Regions from separate parts of the Homo sapiens genome. Here regions 1, 3 and 4 are each linked to region 2. The links are contacts of gene promoters, found by promoter capture Hi-C in blood cells and fetal thymus (Javierre and others, 2016). All regions are on one chromosome and are shown on one strand. The core of a region is centred on a gene start or on the middle of the fragment in contact, and the rest is flanking DNA. Distances in the headings are between cores, read along the strand shown.

What was found. Contacts are between HindIII fragments. The CHiCAGO score rates a contact against its expected background, and 5 or more counts as called.
Region 1: a fragment that was not itself captured here is called in contact with the fragment with the promoter of CSNK1G3 in region 2 in 1 of 17 cell types (total CD8 T cells); the score reaches 6.0 in total CD8 T cells.
Region 3: a fragment that was not itself captured here is called in contact with the fragment with the promoter of CSNK1G3 in region 2 in 3 of 17 cell types (activated CD4 T cells, naive CD8 T cells and non-activated CD4 T cells); the score reaches 7.7 in activated CD4 T cells.
Region 4: a fragment that was not itself captured here is called in contact with the fragment with the promoter of CSNK1G3 in region 2 in 1 of 17 cell types (activated CD4 T cells); the score reaches 6.1 in activated CD4 T cells.

The regions. Positions count from the first base shown.
Region 1 is chr5:123,591,034-123,594,200 of GRCh38, forward strand. It overlaps CSNK1G3 (casein kinase 1 gamma 3), which reads left to right. Exons shown (of 14, transcript NM_001364140.2): 10 at 286-381. Among named protein-coding and RNA genes, the nearest start is that of CSNK1G3, 80 kb to the left of the region's middle. The HindIII fragment of the contact is 1,802 bases long and covers 957-2,758 here.
Region 2 is chr5:123,510,517-123,513,529 of GRCh38, forward strand. CSNK1G3 (casein kinase 1 gamma 3) reads left to right here and starts at 1,661. Exons shown (of 14, transcript NM_001364140.2): 1 at 1,661-2,054. RefSeq lists enhancers at 1,373-1,432, 1,593-1,802, 2,833-2,982 and silencers at 1,983-2,072, 2,243-2,312. The HindIII fragment of the contact is 13,359 bases long and covers 1-3,013 here.
Region 3 is chr5:123,389,130-123,392,190 of GRCh38, forward strand. CEP120 (centrosomal protein 120) reads right to left here. Exons shown (of 20, transcript NM_001375405.1): 7 at 1,981-2,208; 8 at 795-1,011. Among named protein-coding and RNA genes, the nearest start is that of CEP120, 33 kb to the right of the region's middle. The HindIII fragment of the contact is 956 bases long and covers 1,101-2,056 here.
Region 4 is chr5:123,610,911-123,613,665 of GRCh38, forward strand. All of the region lies in intron 13 of CSNK1G3 (casein kinase 1 gamma 3), which reads left to right. Among named protein-coding and RNA genes, the nearest start is that of CSNK1G3, 100 kb to the left of the region's middle. The HindIII fragment of the contact is 2,856 bases long and covers 44-2,755 here.

The DNA of each region.
Region 1 (3,167 bases), core at 608-3,107, 81 kb after region 2:
AAATGTAGCCTAAAAGTAATGGCAGCATTAAGTGTTCTGTAGATGTAAAAATAAGTACTTTATAAAGAATTTGAATATTTTAAAAACACTTTAAAAAGTAGGTATATTCTTTTTGCTTTACCTTCTTAGCTTTAACAACATATTTTGATAATGATGCCTTTACTTAAAGCCTTAGTTTATTTAACAGTCTTTTGTTTTTTTCCTTAATTCTTTTAAGCAGCTAAATGATTTTAAATAAGAATTTTAAAATGGAATGTATTGATACCAATTGTTATTGTATTGTAGCCTACTCCAGTGGGTGCAGTTCAGCAAGATCCTGCTCTGTCATCAAACAGAGAAGCACATCAACACAGAGATAAGATGCAACAATCCAAAAACCAGGTTTGCTGCCCTTTAGATATGAAATACCTTCCTTTCATGATTGAAACATACACTTTTTTCTTCAATAGATAAAACAGACTGAAGGATTGAAAATACATATTTTTAATAGATAATCTATTTTCTCTTAATTTCACTGTTTATTAGTTTAATAATAGCATTAAAATGTTTAATCATAAATCCTTAATTAATGGTACAAATTAGTGTAAACTTTTAGGAATATGTGATATTCTGTTAGAATGGAAGTATTTGGATACCCTATTAGAATGAATTGTAATAACACTTGGACTTTCTAACTGTAGTTTAGTTCAATAAATTATTTATTGAATTTCTGCTATTGTAAAGCTACTGTTCTACACATTATAGAAATTCAGAAGTAAAGAAGACTGTATAACCTTTAAGAATGATTTTGTCACCAGTGTCTAAAAGCAGTGTTGTAGCTAAGAGTTCACTCAATTCTTTAGAATCAGGCATACATGGATATGGCTTGACCCTGGGCAAATAAGTTAATCTGTCAAAGCCTCAGTTTCCTCATCTATAAAATGGAAATAATGCATGTTAATTTAGAGCATACAGTAAGCTTTGAATCAAAACTCTTGTGTCTGCTGTTACTGTTATTATTATTACAATAAATACAGAAATAGCTATATTTAAAAAGAGAATAAGCTATATTACATGAAACACTAATAAAGTAGCATGGAGATCATATGTGGGGCTCTATGAAGATTTTATGGAAAAGGTAGCTTTTGACATGAACCTAAAGAATGAATGGAGTTTTTAAAGGGAAATGAAGATAAGGGCATTTTGGGGAGAGTGAATAATATAAAATATGAAGCAGAAGTTTAAAAATAGAGAATTTGAGGAATAGCAAGCGGTTCAAATTTGTTTGGAGCAGGAGGTAGGTAGAGATGGATTAGAGAGGGAGTAGAGAGTCAGTCTGAGATAAGGCATAGAAGTTGATCAAGTAGCGAGTTCATGTTTCCTGGCCAGGTAAAGGAATAGAAAGCTGTTGAAATTTTTGGGCAATGTTTTAATTTTTCTCTCTCTCTTTCTCTTTTTTTTGGTAAAAAAGTTTTATCGAAGACATCTTTGACTTAAAAATTTCACTATCACACTGAGTTAAGGAGTGTCTAGAAATTTTCTCTTACAATCCATTTTGGAGAAGGATAGTATGCCGTCCTTTTTGACTTTTATATTGTTTATCCCATCAAAGTTTAAGTGAAGATTAAAGATTAAAACAGGATGACAATCAAAAGAAAGAACACCACTTGTTAAAAATCATAGCAAAATAAAATGCTACATTTTAGGGAGTGTTTAACAATATTATGCTATATATATATATATAGCATGGCCAGTTTTAAAAGATTAATATTAAATTTTTGACTTAGAAAAATTGGTACTATAAAGCATCTCATACATAAATTACTTCATATATAAATTAAAATTAGTTGATAGCTGGAGTGCTGTGAAAAGATTCTGTATAAAGAAAGAAATGGCTCAGAAGTTGAGACTTAGTTTGTGTTTTATAAACCAGAGTTAATTCCTTGAATGTACTTGGAAGAAGATTAATACGGTATTCTTTGAAATTCTCCACTTGAGCTGTTAGGTATTATAATAAGTGAAATTCCTCTATTGTTGAATTAAATTATAAATCTAATGTTTTAGACTTTTAGTTTTCTACATCTTTCAGACATGTCTTGCTAACTAGAGTATAAGCTCACTGAGGGTAGGAACCATGTTTCATTTGTCCAGTCCTTGCACTAAATGTAGGGTGGGTGTGTGTGTATATATACACACACACACACACACACACACACATATATATAATATTTAGGCAATTCTTTAGGATAGGCTTATATATTGAATTTGGGATGTGAATATACACACTTTCATCATGATAGAAAAGTTGTATATTTAAAAAAAACTTCTTAAATATCTCTAGACCACTAAGCAGCTTAAGTTCTACAAGAAACCCACAGTTCACAATCCCAGAGGAAGATAGATTATGTCACGTGACTTAAACCTTTGTAATGCCCCTAGATAAATGAGTTAAGTTGAGGGGATCCTGAAATTGTTGGGTACATGTAATTGTTTATTTTCAGGAGAGGGCGTGTAGCTCTTACTATATTCTTAGAGAGTTCCATGACCCCAAAATATTGCGCATTGCCCTAGATGTTTGTCTCAATTTTAGCATCATTTTTATTCTTTGATCTTGTCTAGACTTGACTTCATCTGATTTGATTTCAACTTAAGCTACAAATCTGCTTAATTCTGGTTATGGATTTGGAGGGTTTAACGAAAAGACATTATAGAACTGTCATAGTTTTGATGACATACTTTATGCCACAGAGTATGTAATTTTGCATTGTACAATTTAGGAAGCTTAGTGCCAGAACATGTATTCATGTGTCTACTTGAATTTTACATCTCTCCCCTTAAGGTTGTTCTGGCCAACAATATGCTTGAGGCTCCCCATACTCCAATATGCTTGGCACTTTGTGGCAAGATTTTCATGACTTTGTTTGAAAAAGAAAGAAAAGAGTACTGAAGGCTTTAGAATATATTTAATTTTCGTAAGGAGCTAGGTAGTATTATTGGAAGAGCATTATGCTCTGAGTTGGAATTCCTGTTGTACTCCTTGGTAGGTCTGTAACTGTGGGGAAGTGGTTAATGTCTCACTGTCTTCATCAGTAAAAGTGGATGATAATATCTACCTCAAAATATGGTAATATATAAAGCAGCTAATTCAGAACCAAACATGTAATAAAGTTTAAATAGTATATTCTTCT
Region 2 (3,013 bases), core at 411-2,910:
ACCACCGTACTTAGACCAGCCCATTTTTAATTTAAAAATGTGTTTTGATCATATATTTATACACTTGACTTTCTCAACCATTTATGAAAACTTAGAAGAGTGGGTGTTCTTTATCAAAACTGAGTTTTTTGAGGTAGAGAGAATAAAATGGTTTGTTGGGAGTTGAGGACAATATTTAGAGTTTCCTGTGTTGCAGACACTTCTCTTCTATTGAGTGAGATGTTGTTAACTTTGTTTCTTGTCTATTAGTGGGTCCTGGGAGAGATCAGAAATTCTGGGATATGTCATCTGCCCTAGGCAAGTCATTCACAATTCTGAGCATGCATACATCTTAGCTGCTTTTGAGTCTCCTACAGAATGATGGTGTGGTAAGCATGGAGCAAAGCTCTTATCACTACCCTTCTAAGGCTGGTGATGCTAGTCACTTCTTAACTTCCAGTTTGGGGAAGAAGTGAGAAGAGAGGTTTAAAAAAAAGGCACTGTTGTATTACAAACCAAAATCAAAAACAGATTTCTATACTAACTACCCTTCCAAAGGTAACACATTAGCTATACCGTTAATCTAGCAAAGCAGGGAGGAAAATGAAGGAGTGCATTTGTTTCATTAGTCTTTTCGTTTTGAGAGGTAGACAGGAGAGATAGAGATACACAAGACTCAAGTTTCTTGATACAGTAAGTATATTAAGAATATAAACGGGTTTGATAAAATGAACATTTAAAAAACATGGCACCAGGCTGATTCTTCTTCCTGCACACCTTAATGCCTAACTTTTGAAAGGACTTGAGACATAAGAATCACAATTTTAAAAAATTATAGTTTCCATGCCTTCATGGTGGATCAATTTCCATAGAAGTCTACCAAAATGACTTATCTCCATCCCAGGGAAGCAACTGCAAGAGGGAAAATGAAAGGAATGCAGTCTTTCTATGTAGGCAGAGTGGACTTAAGTGTGAGTCAGAAACACCGATTTCAGTTTGTGCGCTGCAACTTGATAACTTGGGTGATGTTTGGCTTCTCAGAACTTTGGGAGGTGAATTTGAAAAACAGGTAATGCCACACTATATAGTTCAGAGGATTACCTCAGCTTACAAACAGCAAATGAGACGCAAATGTGAGCCATAATTCACATTTCTAAGCAGTTGGAGCCCTGATATGGCACTGGGGTTACAAACAAGCGGGGAAAAATGTCAACCCAGTGATGTCATACTCCTAGGCCGGGCCCTAAGATTTTTTTGGAACCTGGCGGGCTGAGCACAACAGGGAAAGCCTCAGCACCCTGACTTGGCACAATGGTACCCTTAAGGCTCTTTGCTCACTCAGTTCTTAGTAGCTCTCCTAAAGCATGGTGGTGTTCTCTTCCAGTTCTCTGCGTAGACTTTGCTATGCTTCTCCGCCCACTGCTTCATCCAGAGAAACACTCGTATCCACAGCCTCTCCCCACTTTCCCTCACGCACGGCTCTAGAAAGACGGGGATAGGGCGCGGCTTAGGCTTTATACACCTTGCCAGCCAATGACCGCGCCGTCTCCTTTCCGGTCGGCGATCCGACCAATCCAAGAAGGTTGGTGCAATCTTCGGCTCTACTCGGCTGTTTTCGCTGATGCGGGCAGCTTGGGGGCCGCCGCCGCTAAACAGACGCTTTCCTTTTTAATTTTTTTTCCATGTGTTCACTTCCGGGTCCGGCGTCGATCCGGATGCCCGAGGCAGAAGGATGTTTGACCTCCGGATAAGCGAGGCGCTGCTGTGCATTCATTCCGGGCTGCATCGGTGGCGACAGCAGAGGCTCGGGCGGCGACTCTCCGGCCAGCGGCGGCGGTAGGAGGCACCAGCGGCAGTGCAGGGACCGAATCCGAGCAGCGCTGCGTTACCTCTCTCTCTCGCTCCTTCCCCCCTACCTCGCTCGCTCGCTCGCTCGCTCCCTGCGTGGCTCGCTTTCCTCCTCCGGCCGCCGGCGGGTGTGATGTGCCGCCGCCGCTGCCCCCGCCGGCGCTGACGGACTGGGGGCGCCGCCCGCGCCCGGGACCGACCCCTCTGCTCGCGGCCGCGCCTTTGAGGTAAAGCCCCCTGCGCGTAGGTGCTCCGCTGCCAGCCCCGGCCCGGCGGCTGCCTCGGCGCGGCCGCGGCGCCCTCCCTCCCGGGTGGGGCTGGGGTCCCGGGCGGGTGGGGTGGGGTGCGGCGGGGGCGGCGCCGCAGGCGCGGGTGTCGGGGGAGGGGTGGGCGAGGACCATGGCGGGTGGCCCGGAGGCGTGGGCAGGAGGGGGCCGCGGTCGGAGGCTGAGGGCGCGGAGGGCTAGGGGGCAGCGGGGGCCGCGGGTGGCGGGTCGGGCTGGGTGCAAAAGTTGCCGGAGTGGTGCGGCGCGACTGGGGCGGCGAGGGAGGTGGGCCAACTGGGCCGGCGGGGGCTTCCTTAGGAGAGATTGGGAGGTGGGGAGTGTCGCCCACGGTGCTCCTTGACTGTGTCCAGACAATTACCTTTGGAGTAGGGGCTTCAGGCAGGAAGGAGGCATGGATAGGCTGGGAGGAGGCGACGGGGGCCAGCGTTCAGCTCAGGGATAAACTTCCCGTTGGAGTGTTTAAGGGGTTGGGTGGGGGGACACAGGGATTTACCTGTTTCTTAGAGCTTTGACTCAGCTCAAAACTTAACCAAGACATTAGTCAAAGGTTAGCAAAATCACTCTGATGGTTACTCTCATGGTGCCGGTTTGTTTGTTTATCCCACATGCAGGGGAAGTGACACTGAGAAGCATCGGGTCTCTTGGTCCACAGCCTCCACATTTCTTTTCAGCAGGATGAGGAGGGAGATGTGTGTCTACTCGTGGGGTGGGGGTAGTGAGGCCTGTGTCATGGTCATTCCCCTTCTCCCACCTCATGTTTTAGGGAGGAAAAGTTCAGATGGGGGAGAGAGTGAGTGTGCCTGTGTGTGTGGGAGACAGCTACTGTTGATACACTGTGTGAATTACTTTCAACTCTTTTGTAGTAAGCACCCAGGCTGGTCAGTGGCTCCTTTTAAATC
Region 3 (3,061 bases), core at 329-2,828, 120 kb before region 2:
GCAAAGACATCTAACTCCTAATCCACTACTATTTACACTACTAACTATAACTGCAATGGATGGAAAAATTTTATTAAATCAGATAAATATGCATTCTTAGACTCTCTCTTAACTTCAGGATCAAAAATGGTTATTATGAGTTTACTATAAGAGGCAGTTAACAACTGTTTTCTCCAAACTTCAAGATATTTAAGAATCTAATCATTTAAAAAATCTACTTGCAAAAACTATATTATTTAATGTCTATTGAATAGGATATTTCCAGTGTACAAGTAAAATAAAAAATTCTGTTAATTTAGAGAATTATATTTTGAAGTTAGATAGATTGCAATGACTTTGCATTGAAATTTTTTATATTTCCACACATTACTGTTTTGTTTTTTGTTTTGAGACGGAGTTCCGCTCTTGTTGCCCAGGCTGGAGTGCAATGGCGCGATCTTGGCTCACCACAACCTCCACCTCCTGGGTTCAAGCAATTCTCCTGCCTCAGCCTCCCGAGTAGCTGGGATTACAGGCATGCACCACCACGCCTGGCTAATTTTGTATTTTTAGTAGAGACGGGATTTCTCTACCTTGGTCAGGCTGGTCTCGAATGCCCAACCTCAGGTGATCCACCTGCCTCGGTCTTCCAAAGTGCTGGGATTACAGGCGTGAGCCACCGTGCCCAGCCTTATTGGTTCTTAACAAACCCACAATTTTTACTTATAACTCATGAAAGTTCTCATAGTCATTTTTTAGATGGCTGCAAAATGCAATACCTCAAAGATCTATAAACAAACAACAAAAAACCTTACCTTTTGGATTTGGTTTGGTGTCCTTATCATACTGTAAACTTTCCACTTCACTTTCTGTTGCATCATCTTTTGTTGGAGGTGACTGGTTGTGAGATGGAACAGGGGACACTGTTGGTGATTTTGGCCCAGTAAGTGTCTTCTCCTTTATGGGGGTTAAAACTTTCTTCTTTGAATGCTCTGGCTCATGTTCATTCTGGGTCTTTAATTCAATTAAAGACTAAAAACAATTTTTAAATAAAGTATAATTTGCAAAGAACTTTCCTTCATAATTAAGCAAAAAACTTGGCATTGTTTTTTAAAAATATAAGCTTCCTTTCCCAGTTTGGATATTCCTAGTCTATTTTTCTTCGTAATTTGCAAATTTCCTTATAGCATCTAGGACCAGAAAAAGGAAGATGAACAGAGGAAATATGATATCCAGAGCTGAATACCAAAATGCATCCTAATGGGTAAGAAGGGATATTTGAGAAAAGAAGTCAGGCATAGGTGTCCCCGGGAATGGTTATTCCTACCAAGGCAGTACAATGGAGAACTATACTCCTAAAGAGAAAAAACACATGTCTAGTATGACTTTCCTTCTCTCCTTTATTCCACTCCCCACTAAAAATATATGTATATGTATCTTTTAAACACTCATTTCGGTTCTTCTATCTTTAATTCACAACCTGCATAAAGATCAGCTTTTTGAAAGAACAAGATAAAGTTGATTTCTGGGAATAGATACAATAAAAAAAATACACGGCCAAATAAATGATCATCTGTGTCATGAAAACTGACTAAAGAGAGTATGAGGACTACAAAGCACTAAGGAACCAAGGATTTTATTTTGGCTCAGGTTGCATTAACCAAAAAGATATCAGTAATGCAGATTCCCAGAAACTAGGTCTAAAAATGTTCTCTTTCACTGGAGTTCCTTTTCTGGAGTTGGGGGTGGGGGAGACCATAAGTGGGTTTCCACTACACAAAAAGACTGTCTCAAAGGCTAAGAGGGCTCTGGGTAGAATCACTTATAAACCATAACAGAAGTCACAGCACTTTTCAGAAAGGAGGTATCATATAACAAAGGTCACTAATTAAGATTAATAAATATATCCTTATGAAGGTAACTCTTCTGAAATTCAACTTTTGTAAGTAATCATGCATGGGACTAGTGAAGCCAGGGGAATGAAGGAGGGCCACTACTTGCCTGGGAGTCTATGCCTTCTCTCTGCAGAGCCACAGACACTCCCACAGTTGGGGCTAGCTCCACAGGAATAGGTGCAAGCTTCTGTTTGGCTCTGTTTGGAGGGTCAAGGGTAAAAGCACCTTCGACTGTGACTGGGTGCTGGTTGATTTCTGTACTGCCCTTTTTAAGTAATCCAGTTAAAGGTATTTCTGTACTTCCAAGTGACTGGTCTCCACAGCAGAGGTGAATCTAATATGAAAGGGAAAAATCAAAATAGGGCTTTATACTTTCTCCTTTCTCCTAAATATCATAAACTTAATAAGAAGTTGTAAAATGATGCATGGAAAGAAAATATTATGCAGGTTATACCTCATTGACCTCAAGTGACGAAGTAATGAATTCTCACACATAACTGTTAAAACTGGTGATAAAACACAAAGTTTACTAAAAACTCAATAATAGCTATTACCTTTTTCATTTCTTCTTTCGGTATTACATAATCATATGTTATTGCTTCTTTTTCTGTCTCTTTGGTGAGCTACTTTAATATTTTACTATAACAAAATTAATGCATGAATTTAAACAAAAAAAACAAAGAAATACCTCAACATTTTTCTTTTTCCATTTTACCATTAATTTAAACACAGTTTCAAAAAATAAGTCAGTGGATCAATCCTGATTTGGAATTTAAAAACCTCAAATAGTTTTGTTTTTTTCACCCATAAGATATCTTGAATATTTCTCTTTTCTTGCTTTTCAGACCTCATATTAAAAAGAGTGCTTAACAGTAAGTAAAAGAATATCTCTGGAGTGGAGTATACTGTTAATCACTGATAGCTAATTAAAAATTCAATATTATCACCTTTTGACAAGTACAAAAAAAAAGACTCTTCCAGATAAATGTTATATAACTTGTTTTCCCTTACTATATTGAAGCCTTAGCAAACTTAGTATTTGAATGAATAATAAATAAGCAATCATGCTGTAAAATATATTTAGCTCTAATATCATCAGTGAAAGAGTTAAGAGAGACCTGTAACTTAGTCCCAAAGTTATTATAAGGTGTAATATTTTTATGGGCTGGAAAAAAAAGTATTTTTAT
Region 4 (2,755 bases), core at 222-2,721, 100 kb after region 2:
TGTGCCAGTTTGTTGGGCTATAACTGTGAGCAGTCCTTTATGAAGCTTAAATTCTAGTGCAAAGGCAGATAATAAATAAATAAAATAATTTCAAAGTAGGAGTAAGTTATTACAGAAAAATAAAACAATAGTGTGCTCAAGTGGCTACATGGGAGCAGCACTGTTTCAGATTAAGTGCTGGGGAAGAGGAAGCAATTGAGATGAGACCTGATTTCTTAATCTCTAAGACTATAAATTAGCTGTTTCGGTAATTACTTTTATCTTAAGAAATAAGCCATAAGGTTAAAACATCAATTTACTTCCTAACTTCTGTAAGTATATCGTATTTTGAGAACCTCTCTCTTGTCTATTTGGATGCATTTGTATCACATAAGGCAATGCTGTCCTCTGGTGGTAGTAACTTTAATAGCATGCCAGCTTTACTTTTGCAAATCTTTATAAGGACGTTCTTTATTTAGTGGGAATTATTTAAAATAGATGTCCTTTTTAGATTGTGTTTGAATTTAAGGGCCATTAGAATTTATTTGAAAATCTTATTTAGTCTCAAATAAATGCTTGGCGTAGTTCAGTAAAACACTGTTGAAGGAAAGATTACTTAAGTGTAAAGAACTCAACTCTCAGAACTCAACTCTCAGAACTCTCAGTACTGGAAATACAAACTAAGCAAAGTAAATTGCTGATACAAGTGTAGAAAATTTGGGACTTTGTCTTGTTCATCAAAATGTGTATTACATTAAATTGCCCATTTCAAAGGGCTAATACAACTTTAGAAAATTTTGAAAGAATCTACTTTGGAATTTGAAAGGATAGTGTTTAAGAATAGTGAACATTATTAAAGGAATTTTATATCAAACAATAAATTTCCATTGAAATATGGCCATATTCTTAAATTTAATATTCTAAGTATTTGGTCTGTCACTTCTAAATACCTATTTTTATGTCTTGCTTTCTGCTATTTGGATATTTTTCTGCTCTTTTCTAAGTCTTAAATTTAAAGGTTCATTTGGAGTAAAGGATTTTATCTTTTAGAAAGTAATTGAGATTTGAGAAATATTAGGTAGCTGACAGTTAAAAATAAATTTGACTTATTTTTTTAAATCCAGATCAAATCTCTTACATGTGTAGTCTTGTTGTACTGTGGCAGCTCTTCTCTAGGCTCTTGACTGGGTAATCCATTTCAGTTCTTTCTGCTAGTCACCTCCATGAGAGTAAAGTTGATAAACATTCATCATTACATATATTTCTAGTTGAATCTTTATCAGCTGGTCCACAATTTTAAATTATTTACATTCCACGGTCTAGTCGGTGTTTACTGTTTGGTTTACTTAAAAAAATGCAGTTGTGTAATTTGGTTTGCAGTACCCTCATAGTAGTTTCATAATTATGGCAGAAATCACAATAAATAATTTAAAATTATTTTTGACTAAAGATAATGTGGGTAGAGAGATTATGTAATTTAACTGGACAGTGTAGATTTCTGTTTACATTTATTTCACAGAAGTATATAAAACATACCTAGTAGTTATTTTATATTCTGTAATCTTTTGCCGGGTGGGACACTTGAAGCTATTTTTTTTTTTTTTTTGGAACAGAGTCTCACTCTGTCGCCCAGGCTGGAGTGCAATGGCGCGACCTTGGCTCACTGCAACCTCCGCCTCCTGGGTTCAAGTGATTCTCCTGCCTCAGCCTCCTGAGTAGCTGGGATTACAGGTGCCTGTCACCACGCCTGGCTAATTTTTGTATTTTTAGTAGAGACAGGGTTTTACCATGTTGGTCAGGCTGGTCTTGAACTCCTGACCTTGTGATCTGCCCACCTTGGCCTCCCAAAGTGCTGGGATTACACGCATGAGCCACCCCTCCTGGCCAAAACTATTCTTCTATGAATATAGATTAGTAAGAATTATAGAAACATCTTTATAAGGGCATATTATACACAGTCTGAATTGGCAGCTCTCGATGATGAAATCACCATGTATATAAATATACTTTGCTTTTATTACAAAATATGATTTATAAACATGCCCACATACCCACAGAGGACTTCAGTGGAAACCAGGGATACTCAACCATGCTTGCCTGCGCCAAAAGTAAATTCAACCTTAGGAAGGGGTTGACTGTTTAAAGGTTAAAAGAAAAGGTGCCTAACTATATGTAGTGTCTGTCATGTTGTATATTTTAATAGACTCTTTTATGTCTGGAAGGGGAAAATGCCATACCTTCATGCCTTTATTTGAAGGATTGTGAGGCATTTAAGATAGATGTGTATTTAATTTTTTTCTTTTTTTTTTTTGGTGGGAGCAGATCAGTGATTTTTTCAGTTCATACCAGACCACAGCATTTTCCCACAGCAGCCTTGATGTGTTCATCTCCTCTTTTAGAGACAGGGTCTTGCCCTGTCACACAGACTGGGGTTCAGTGGCACAATCATAGATCAAACATTCCTCCTGCCTCAGCCTCTCAAGGAGATGGGGTAACAGGCGGGTGCCACCATGTCCAGTGCATGTGTGTGTGTGTGTGTGTGTGCGTATGTATGTATAATATAATATATGTGTGTACATTTATATATGTATGTGTGTATATATATATTTAGAGATATTTGTGTATGTGTATATGTAGTTAGAGAGAGAGAGATATTTAGAGATGGGGTCTTGCTGTATTGTCCAGGCTGGTCTTGAATTCTTAAACTCCTGAGCTCAAGCAATCCTCCTGCCTCGGCCTCTCAAAGTGCTGGGATTACAGGCATGAGCCACTGTGC